Linked DNA regions of Homo sapiens: region 1 is linked to region 2. The links are contacts of gene promoters, found by promoter capture Hi-C in human tissues and cell types (Jung and others, 2019). All regions are on one chromosome and are shown on one strand. The core of a region is centred on a gene start or on the middle of the fragment in contact, and the rest is flanking DNA. Distances in the headings are between cores, read along the strand shown.

The links. The method cuts DNA at HindIII sites, captures the fragments that hold promoters and counts their contacts. A contact is called where the count stands out against the background at its distance.
Region 1: a fragment that was not itself captured here is called in contact with the fragment with the promoter of RSRC2 in region 2 in 1 of the 25 tissues and cell types used here (dorsolateral prefrontal cortex).

Annotation. Positions count from the first base shown.
Region 1 is chr12:123,619,894-123,625,919 of GRCh38, forward strand. EIF2B1 (eukaryotic translation initiation factor 2B subunit alpha) reads right to left here. Exons shown (of 9, transcript NM_001414.4): 7 at 4,894-4,969; 8 at 2,743-2,868; 9 at 513-2,027. The coding sequence ends at 1,863. It overlaps DDX55 (DEAD-box helicase 55), which reads left to right. Exons shown (of 14, transcript NM_020936.3): 14 at 71-1,050. The coding sequence ends at 247. Among named protein-coding and RNA genes, the nearest start is that of SNORA9B, 6.2 kb to the left of the region's middle. RefSeq lists an enhancer at 1,484-2,683. The HindIII fragment of the contact is 7,939 bases long and covers 1-6,026 here.
Region 2 is chr12:122,523,009-122,528,603 of GRCh38, forward strand. It overlaps RSRC2 (arginine and serine rich coiled-coil 2), which reads right to left and starts at 3,928. Exons shown (of 10, transcript NM_023012.6): 1 at 3,840-3,928. The coding sequence starts at 3,845. KNTC1 (kinetochore associated 1) reads left to right here and starts at 4,241. Exons shown (of 64, transcript NM_014708.6): 1 at 4,241-4,343. RefSeq lists an enhancer at 3,608-4,067. The HindIII fragment of the contact is 3,842 bases long and covers 2,859-5,595 here.

The sequences.
Region 1 (6,026 bases), core at 1,611-4,110, 1.1 Mb after region 2:
AAAACTGCTGGTTTCACTACAACACTATTGCTGAAAAATTTAGTAGTTTATTGGTTTCTTCTGCACTTAGGGTTCTGATATTGAAGATGAGGACATGGAAGAACTTCTTAATGACACAAGACTCTTGAAAAAACTTAAGAAAGGCAAAATAACTGAAGAAGAATTTGAGAAGGGCTTGTTGACAACTGGCAAAAGAACAATCAAGACAGTGGATTTAGGGATCTCAGATTTGGAAGATGACTGCTGATTCCAGTGCCACAGATGAACCCACAAGGACATAGCTGTTCCCTAACTTGGTGGATGGCTCCAGTTTGCTTTTAACGAAAATCACAACTTCAGGAGACATCTGAAAAGAATGATGTCTCTGAAAGCTGTCCTTTCAGATGAGGGAGAAATGAAGGATTTCACACTTCAGAATATTTTACTAAAAACATTCCAGTCTTGGCCGGGTGCGGTGGCTCCTGCCTATAATCCCAGCACTTTGGGAGGCTGAGGCAGGAGGATCACTTGAGCCCAGGAGTTCAAGACCAGCCTGGGAACACAGCGAGACCCTCTCATTAAAAACAACAAAACAAAACAATTCCAGTCTTGGAGTAGTCTAACAGAAGAAAATGTAAAATTATTTGAGTGTAAATAATAGATGTCAGTATTTATCATGATGGGTCACATATAGACATATGTACATATTATATATATATATATATATATATATATATATATATATATATATATATAAGCTCTTTTTTCTGAGGCTATTTTATAGTTATTTTTAAACATAAAGATACAGAAGTCTTCTTGACTTCTGATTTTCAAAACCATTCCTCAGTATCTTCAGGCATTTGACCTCCTGAATGTGCTTGGCCCTGGGCTTCAGTTATCCTTTGATGTCCTGCAGGGGTGGCTAATGTGCTGGGGTTTTTCTGTGTTAATAGTCACAGTATTGTTTTATTGGTGAATAGCTGAAAAACAGAGGGATTAAGTCATATTCCGGGAAAGAGAATTATAGTTTTTATGCCTCCTGTTGAATAAATGGTGTCCTGATTGCCTGGGTCTTAAGTGTGTAAATGTAGCTGGACAGTGTTTTCCCCTAGATGGCCTGGTCAGCTTGCAGTATTGATGCAACACCACATCAGCGTCTTTCATAGAGTTTATTTGAAAAGATGCTGAATTTATTCCCAAGTATAATTTTAAAAAGCTGTTTAGGACCCAAACATATTTAAACATCTCTTACACATACAGAATTTCAGTTTACAAATATTCCAGAAGGCATTTTCTTAAGCAGTGAACCATGCAGAATACTGTTGCTAAACATCGTTTCTGCCTTCCTCGTGTTCTCTTGGTAGTTTTTACTGTTTGGCTTGATCCTGCTGAGGAATGTGCTTACCACTGGAAGCCAGATGCAGATTCAGCAAGTGTTTCTTGCCTCTTACAAGGCACCGCGTGTAACGTCCTGACCAGCTGTTGGTCATTTGTGGCAGAGGGGTGTGGCTGCTTTTCGCCTGCATCTCGCGTGCTTTAGGCAGATCAGTCTGGAGTGCAGGGGAGGATGAAGACAGGTGGACTTGGGCTCATCTTTCATCAGTTAAGTAGCCAATTATCTAACTTGTATTTCTGGAAACTGAAAAGGAAAGTTTCTAGAAACCGTAAGAACAATTTAAGTTGGGATTTAGAATAGCTGACACATTTTTAGATGGGACTGAAATGAGTAAGAAAGGTTCTCCAAGATGTATGATTTTAAGTCCTTACTCCATAAATCTTCATTAAACACATCTCAGTTTTGGCCTGACTCACTGGGGTGTCAAGCAGCTACTCACCCTGCCTCAACTACGTAAGCTGCACCTTGGCAGGAAAGGGCTCACAGGTTACAGATAGAGCTTGATGAGCTCATCGCTGACTGCTGAGGGTGTCAGCACGCCCAGGTCTGTAAACAGCAGAGTGATTAAGGAAGGGGCAGTGTAGTCGACCCACGGATGCTCCTCTTTGAGGTCTTGTCCAGTCTGCGCGACCTTGAGAGTGTCTGCCTTATACTGAGGAGAGAAGTACACATTAGTCGGCACTGAATATTTAGTGCTCTGACCTGGTAGGGCCTTGGTGTGAGTGATCAGTGTGCTACTTCCTGAGACTGCTCTCTGAAAATGGGAGAAACTAAGCTATGCAGGACACTAGAGACGAGGGCAGAGTTGTGGCCATGAGCCAGATCATGGCAGTGTGCTGGCTGAGAGCTGTAGTGTAACAAACTTAAATCCCATGTCCCCTCATTCTCATGCCGGATTAACTTCTCCAGACCTCTCAAGGGAAGATCGAGAGTCACAATAGAGAGCTTGCAGCGTGCCAGGGACTGTGCTAAGATTATCTTAGAATCCTCATGACCCTGTCAGATACTGCTATGCCATTTTACAGACAAGAAAACCGGTTCAGAGGTTGAAATGAAAGGACTTGCCTCAACTCGCACAGTTTGTAAGTTGTGGTGATGGGAGCTGAGCTCAGTTAAGCCCAAAGCTGGGACTTACCCACCAGCTTCGGGCTTCCTCTCCACCCATCTATGGTGCTACTTAAAGAGACTGAAAGACTGAAGTTCTAGGGACAAATGTGTGAGTCCAATCACCAATTTATCTTTGTATTCCAAGTGTTGGGGAAAGTAGCAATAGGAAGTGAAAAAATTACTGGAACATTCTTAGGACTACAATTTCCAAAGGTTTCTGTTTAGACTTTAGTACCCCTTCAAATATGTAAAACTCTTGCCTTAAACTTATCTGGGACGTCTTGCTGGTTTAGTGGAAAGAGCCGGACAAACTTGAAACTTTCTGCAACCACATAGAAAGGTTTGTTCTGTGCTTTGGCACACACAGCCATCTGGTTGGTTCCAATCTGGGAAGGCAGAAAATGGAATGGATGAGCTCTAGAGTGCATCTGAAGTAGAAGCCACAGAAAAGCGGGCCGGGCACAGTGGTGCATGCCTGTATTCCAGCATTTTGGGAGGCCGAGGTGGGTGGATCACCTGAACCCATGAGTTTGGGACCAGCCTAGGCAACACGGTGAGACCTCGTCTCAATTACAATAAAGGAACAATTAAAAAACAGCAATAGAAAGTTATGTATATAATATAGATATACATATATCTAATACATATATTAGATATATCTAATTCTGACTTTGGAATCAAAAAAATAAATGTTTCTCAAAGGATATAGAAACAGCCACTAGAGGCTGGATGTGGTGGCTCACGCCTGTAATCCCAGCACTTTGGGAGGCCGAGGTGGGTGGATCACCTGAGGTCAGGAGTTTGAGACCAGCTGGCCAATATAGGGAAACCCCATCTCTACTAAAAATACAAAAAATTAGCTGGGCATGGTGGGATGGGGGGTGCCTGTAATCCCAGCTACTAGGGAGGCTGAAGCAGGAGACTCGCTTGAACCCGGGCACTGGAGGTTGCAGTGAGCCAAGACTGTGCCATTGCACTCCAGCCTGGACAGCAAGAGTGAAACTCCATCTCAAAAAATAAAAAAATTTAAAAAAACAAGTGTTGGCAAGGATGTAGAGAAATTGGAACCTTTGTGCTTTGCTAGTGGGAATGTAAAGTAGTGCAGCTGCTGTGGAAAATCATTAGTTTCTGAAAGTTAAATATATAGTTACCATGTGACTCAACACTCTGCCTGCAGACCTCCGCCTCCCAGGTTCAAGCGATTCTCCTGCGTCAGCCTGCCAAGTAGCTGGGATTACAGGCACCCGCCACCATGCCCAGCTAATTTTTTGTATTTTTAGTAGATATGGGGTTTCACCATGTTGGCCAGGCTGGTCTCGAACTCCTGACCTCAGATGATCTACCTGCCTCAGCCTCCCAAAGTGCTGGGATTATAGGCGTGAGCTACTACGCCCGGCCTTATGTTACATATATTTTAACTAAAAAAAGCTTTCATGAAGCTTTTCTAAATTAAATAATGGAGAGAGAGATTGTAATAAATTGAGGTCAAATGTGCTCAATTAAAATGAAAACAAATGACAGGCCGGCCACAGTGGCTCATGCCTGTAATCCTAGCACTTTGGGAAGTGGAAAGATTGCTTCAGGCTAGGAGTTCAAGACTGCAGTAAGCTATGATCACTGTACTACACTACAGCCTGGGCAACAGAGTGAATGTGTCTCTATTTTAAAATATATATAATATTTATATATAAATACACGTATTTTATACATACATACTTTATATGTAAATATATAAATAATATTTTAAAAATATTTGTGTATATATATTATGTGTGTGTATATATATGCATAAATAAAACATACATATACACATAAATAAAGCAAAAACCAGACAAACCCCAATTCCAATTCAAGCCAATTTTGTATAAATATAAATTACACTTTTTTTTTTTTTTTTTTTACTGAGACAGGGTCTCACCATCGCCCAGGCTGGAATGCAGTAGTGTGATCATAACTTACTGCAACCTCAAATTCCTGGGCTCACGTGATACTCCTGCCTCAGCTTCCTGGGCAGCTGGAACTACAGGCAAGCACCACCACGCCCAGCTAATTTTTCTAATTTTTTGTAGAGACAGGGTTTCACTATGTTGCCCAGGCTGGTCTTGAACTCAAGGCCTCAAGTGATCCTCCCACCCTGGCCTCTCAAATTGCTAGGATTACAGGTATAAGGCATCACACCTGACCAAATTACATTGTCTTCATTTATGTAGATCAATCTAAAAAAGATTTGACTGAAACTGGACTGCCCATTGCTATGACTTACGGGAAATGGGCAACAACTCAATACCATGATGAAGTCCTGAAGTGAAGCAGGATTAGAAGGAACCATAATCAACACTGCTGTGGTGTCCTAGGTCAGCAAGACACCTCCAAGTCTTGAGCAGGGAACTGGGGAGAACTGATGCTCTTACCTTGTTAATAATTCCTCCGTTTTCAACAACTCCTTCAGCACCAACTATGACAAGATCTGCTTTCTCCATGATGTAGCTAAGGGGAAAAAAAGCTTTTCATGCTTTATTTTCTTGGCTCTAACGAGTAGCATCATCATCTGCAAAGATCAATATTCCATTTCTATCAAGGTAAGTTCCTCCCATAACTACCTGTTTTTTTTAAAGCGCACTTAACACGCGATAGACCCCTGGCATTGTTACCAGGGGTGTTTTCTGGTCATGACCCTACAATGAGACATACACTTCACACTGCCGCCCGGCGCATGCACACGTACATATGTGTGTAAGTGAAGCAAGAATGTCCTGACACAGCAGTCTTCCTTCCAAGTGTGGTATCCTCTACTTTCTTTTCTACTTCAGCACAAACCAAACAAAATTTTAAAATCTGATGAGATCTGAAGTTGGACAAAAGTGTTATGCAGTTTTAAAAATCTTTCTTTTTTTTTTTGAGACCAGATCTCACTCTGTTGCCCAGGCTAGAGTGCAGTGGCATGATCTCAGCCCAAACCTCTACCTCTTAGGCTCAAGCGATCCTCCCATTTCAGCCTCCCAGGTAGCTGGGACCACAGCATATGCCACCATGCCCTAGAGATGGGGTTTCGCCATATTGCCCAGGCTGGTCTCCAACTCCTGAACTCTAGCGATCCACCTGCCTCAGGTATGAGCCACTGTGCCCAACCTTAAGAATCTTTCTGGTAGGATGAAGGCCAATTTAGTCTTTAAAATGAGCAATTAGTAGAATTCCTCAAAATCCTTACTTTTGAACACATTCCTAATTTCCTTAATCATCTATCTTGTTTTCATTCCAAGAGATCACTACTCTTGTTTTTTCTTGGGAAATACACTGACAATCCCAGGAACATGTGACTTGGCTTTGCGACACAAGCTGCATCTTCTAGGTGAGACAAAGCATCCCAGTATGCCACTGAGGACAGCCAGGTCTTCACAGAAATACAGAGCCCTGATTACCCTCTGCTGATCCCAACTGACCTTTGTACTTTGCTCTTAAAATGCATTTGCACTGGCTGGGCGTGGTGGCTCACGCCTGTAATCCCAGCACTTTGGGAGGCCAAGGCGGGCAGATCACCTGAGTT
Region 2 (5,595 bases), core at 2,678-5,177:
GGCTATCTGACCAGAGAAGATAACATGAAAATAAAATAATTGATACACCTGGGGAATTGATTACTTAGGAAGGGTTGGCAAGCTATGGTCCTCATTCTGTTTCTGTATGGCCTTGAGCTAGGAATGGTTTTTTACGTTTTTTAAAACTATTTTAGGCATATTTAATAAATAACTTCAGTAAATAGCACTGTAAAGACTGAACTGTTAAAACTAAAGGCACTTAAAACGCCAGTGTTGTGGCTCATGCCTGTAATCCTAGCACTTTGGGAGGTTGAGGCAGGCGGATAACCTGAGGTCAGGAGTTTGAGACCAGCCTAGCCAACATGGTAAAACCCTGCTTCTACTAAAAACACAAAAATTAGCCAAGAGTGGTGGGGCGTGCCTGTAATCCCAGCAACTCAGGAGGTTGAGACAGGAGAATGGCTTGAACCCATGAGGCAGACGTTGAAGTGAGCTAAGATTGCGCCACTGCCCCTCCAGCCTGGGAAAGAATGTGACAGAGACTGCACATGGCCCACAAAGCCAAAAATATTTACCGTCTGGCCCTTTACAGAAACAGTTTATGGACTTTTCACGTATAACATCAAACGGAATCTGGATTGAATAAATAGGGAATCGATAGTCTTCAGCAGGAGGAATCACATTAGAGAACTTCCTCCTTTAGGAAAGTTAGTCCAGAAAATGAATACCAAATATCAAGTACAATAAATGGGGGTATTGTATTTTAACAAATTTTAAACAAGTATCAAGTACAATAAATGGGTGTATTGTACTTTAATAAATGAAGTTGTGAGAGGTCGAGTTACTTCAACAAGTATTTACTAAGGGTCAAAAATGTGCCAAAACCAATGCTAGACTTAGGGAATAAAATGATAAATTAAAAACAGAAAGGTTTTGCAGTTCAATTATGAGATGAAAGACATAAATTACGTGTTATTCCTCTAACAATGGCACAAAAAGAACAGTAAGAAATTAACTACCAGGGAGGCTCTCATGCCAGCATATTGTATATGTACTTATTTCTCCAGTCTGGGTGACTTCTGGAACCATAAAATTTTTATGCTGAAAGGTTTTCACCCCTTAGAATAGAGTTCAACTTTCTCGTTTCACAGATGAGATCCAGCAACATTAGCTGACTTGCTTAAAATGATACTGCATCTCCGTATCTTTACTGTTTACTACTAATAAATAATGCTGTATCATTAAGGATGATTCTGATTTTTCACAATGAATTCTGGACACTTTTTTTTTTCATCGTTATCCTTGAGGACTATTTCAGACTCATTTATTACTTGCTGAGTGTTTGTACAGCTTACACTTGGTAAACAGAAGTGATCTCGAAAATTTTAAGCACCGCTATTACTTCTCTCAGTTGCACGACACTTTTGCCAGAGACAGAATTCCTTAACTAGTGGCAAATCCCATTTACTTTTGCAGAGAACAAGACTAGAATCGAAAACAACCTTCTCATGGAAAATCTAGTGCTTAGCCTAGGCAGTTTTCAGGCAATGGTTTATCTAACTTTAACTTCATGCTTAACATCACAAAGCTGGACAACAGAGAAACCTCCCTGTGACATAGGCTAACTTAAACTTACATCATCAACCATTTTCATCTGTAAAATATACTACAGAGCAACAACAAAAACCATCTTAACACTAAACAAATAGGAATGATAGGTGGTCATTGAGGCCATGGAAAACTTTTATTTCCCTGAGGATATTTTATAGTAGCATAATACAGGTATCCAGGAAAAAAACCTACCAAAAACTGAGTATTAAAATTGCTCTGAAATTTTCTAAGCTTTAATTTAGTACTAATCTATGTGTACACATAAACGTTAACTGCAAAACAGCCTTCTATTCCAGCAGTGGCTCTACGAGGTAGCCACTTTGGTTTCTTATAATTTACATTTTGTTGCAAACTCTAATAACGGCTCGAAACATAGACAAATCTTTTTCCACTGCGAAGGAGGTAAGCACTGGATTGAATACTAGGTCACTTCTCTAGGGGACTGTCTTTTTATTGAACAAGGCACGGCATAAATAAATGTTTAAATTCACTTTTTAAAATACTAGAACCCGGCCGGGCGCGGTGGCTCACTCCTGTAATCCCAGCACTTTGGGAGGCCGAGGCGGGTGGATCATCTGAGGTCAGGAGTTCGAGACCAGCCTGGCCGACGTGGTGAAACCCCGTCTCTACCAAAAATATAAAAAAATTAGCCGGGTGTGGTGGTGGGCGCCTGTAATCCCAGCTACTCGGGAGTCTGAGGCAGGAGAATCGCTTGAACCCGGGAGGCGGAGGTTGCAGTGAGCCAAGATCGCGCCATCGCACTCCAGCCTGGGCGACAAGAGCAAAACTCCGTCTCGAAAAAATACAAAAAAACCTGCAACCCAAGAAAAATAGTATTACTCTTTAAGTATACTGAGGCCCAAAACACTAAACAAAGGAAGACAGTAAAAGAAACGGGTTTAAACTCAATCACCTAAATAATAGAGGGGTATGGGGGAAAAAGAAAATCATCTGCCTAATCCCAGGCATTCCAATCGTTAGGAAGAGCAAACTTTAAAACTATCACTATGTTTAAGAGTCATAATTATTATCGAAAATGATGTAATTTTTTAGTCAGTAAAAAGGAATGCAAAATCTTTACATTTTCCTTTTAACGGAATAAAAATGAGGTAAGCACAAAATAATGTGGATCCGTCAGAATTGGGTATCTTATACACACGCAGGCTTATTGTTCAGAATAGATAATTTACGAACTGTAGCTCCTCTGGGGTCAACGAAGAGTTTTTTTTTTTTTTTTTTTTTTTTTTTTTTTTTTTTTTGAGACGGAGTCTCGCTCTGTCACCCAGGCTGGAGTGCAGTGGCGGGATCTCGGTTCACTGCAAGCTCCGCCTCCCGGGTTCACGCCATTCTCCTGCCTCAGCCTCCCAAGTAGCTGGGACTACAGGCGTCCGCCACTACGCCCGGCTAATTTTTTTGTATTTTTAGTAGAGACAGGGTTTCACCGTTTTAGCCGGGATGGTCTCGATCTCCTGACCTCGTGATCCGCCCGCCTCGGCCTCCCAAAGTGCTGGGATTACAGGCGTGAGCCACCGCGCCCGGCCAACGAAGGGTTTAAATTTAAAGGAACAAGGTCAGTGACAAGACTTAACTGTAACGCTTCTCGGACTTCAAATTGATTACATCACGGGCCACTTCGGAAACCGCGCATCAGTCAGAATTGGTAGTTCCACAACCTTTTAAGTTGAATTTTCACTCCCTTTCAGCAATACCTTCCTAGCTCGTTAATACACAATAATAAGGTTTACACGGACGAACACTAATTGAAATTATGCAACTAGAAGCATCTCATTGAGCGTACAAAAAAAAAAATAGCTACAAGTCGCTCTCTTCTCCCACACTACCCTTTACAGACACTGCCTTTTTGACCCAATACTTTTCAGAGACCACTCCTGATCGTCTTTCTCTTCCCCAGCCCCTTTCTCCACCGCAAATTCTCAGGCCCTAAAAAAAACTTAGAATAAATCACTAGCCAGGGTGAATAAGCGAAAATGGAGGAAGTTCAGTGAGGCGAAAGGAACGTAGGGTTGGGGAAGAGAGGAGGAAAGTTCTGGAAAAAAAAAGGCACTCCCTGCGGCTCCCCACCCCCACCAACACCGCCTTACTTCCCCCTCCCTACAGCAGGCAGCCATGATGGCGGGCGCAGAAGAAGGCCGCGGCGCCATTTTGTCTACACACATACACACGAACAAGGTTCTGGGAGCCGTTCACCCACTGTTGGAACGTAGCAGAAAAATATCCCTGGCTTTAAACTCAGATTCGGTACCTACCGCCATAGTTCAGAGTCCCGGCCGCTAGAGCGGCGCCTCCACTTGTCGCTTTCAACAGTACCGGCCGCTCCGAAGCTTCGCCTCAGACTAAATCGCTCGCGCGAGAGACCCGGATGGCACAAAGGCGAGGAGGCCCGGCGCGTCGCACAGCTTGCTGGGAGAAAAAGGGGCGGTAACAAAAGTTTCTATAACAACGCAATTCGAGGCGGTGATTGGGTGTTCTTTCATAGGGGAGTGTAAAGACCGTGAAGAGGGCGGGGCCAAGAATACACCCCCGGAATGCGCAGTCGGGAGAACGGAATGGGCGGAACTCAGGGTGGGGCAACTTCCTATTTCGAGTCTAAAGTAATCTTGGTCTCTTCCGGCCGCCGTAAAGGGGTTGGGTTTAGTGTTCTCCCGCCAATTTAAGCCTGTGGCATGGAACCTAAAGACTAGAGGCGGTTGTGTGAGTCAGGAAGAGGGGCCAGATATCTGAGTGTTCCTCTTTAGTTTCTTCAATTGCAGGTGAGGACGGGGAGCTGCGCTGTGTAGGGAACTGGGGGTGGGTTCAGGACGAAGTAGCTGCAGCCTCTGCTCAGTTCCTGTTGTTTTCCCCTTGACGCTGGCAGGAGAGAGGTTGGAGTCGGTTTTTGCTGGCGGCGATGTCCAGCGGAGAGCGTTTAAGTATGGAGGCCTAACTGACAAGTGTTTCATCTTGCTCATTCTCTCGTATTCGCGAATCTGTTCTGCATTCCGCCGCCAGAGTGATCTCAAAATTATAAAATCAGACCACTCGTTTGCTGAGTTCCCCTTCTACCCCTTGTACTGAGAATAAAATTCAATCTTGAGGTCGAGGTTTTATTGGACTCCACTGCTCTCTCCCTCACTGTCTTCTGCTTTTGCTTTGACCCGGCAGCAGCATCAAACGCTTCCTACCCAGCCTCCGAGTCTTTGCACTCTGTTCCCTCTGCCTACGTCGCGTTCCGCCTAAGTTTTGCGTACTTCTTGTTATTCAGGTCTCAGCTCAGATGTCACCTCCTTCCCTTCCCAAACAAATCCTTCTTCAGCGACGCCTCACCTTATCCATTTAATCACTGTTTCCTTCAAATCATTTAGCACTTTTTGTAATTATTTGTGCAGTTGCTTTTTTGTGGAGGTAGCATAACAAGATACGTATTAACAATTTTATTTTTGTCCGTTTTTCCCGCAAAAACATAAACTTCATAATGGCAAAGACATTTTGTGTTCTGTTCAAGCTATATTCCCAGTTCCTAGAAAGGTGTCTGGCACATAGTAAATAGGTATTCAATAAACATTTGTTGAATAAGTAAATATGGCAGTTACGGGCGGTTTCTCTATTTCACAGATGTGGGAAATTGAGACCCATAAAGGTATTCATTCCAACCTGTCCCTCCTTCTTCATCTCCTCACTCCCACCCAAACACCAGCCACTGAAACTTCTCTATTCTCCAAACATGTTTTGTTTCTGTTCCCTTGCTTATGCTCTTAGGAAGAACTCTTTAAACATTTATAAAACTATGATCTTCAATTCTCAGCCCAATAACAAATTAGCTAACACCTAAAATTGAATGTTTGCCATCAACCAAGCATTGTTCTGTGAACATTTAAAACTCAAAACATTTGGAGGCTGAAGCAGAAGGATTGCTTGAGCCCAGGAGATCAAGGCCAGCCAGGGCAAAATAGTGAGACCCTCGTCTCTCAAAAAACCAGAAGTGAAAAATAGAAAACTCCTTCAGGTGGGTACAACTAAATTAGT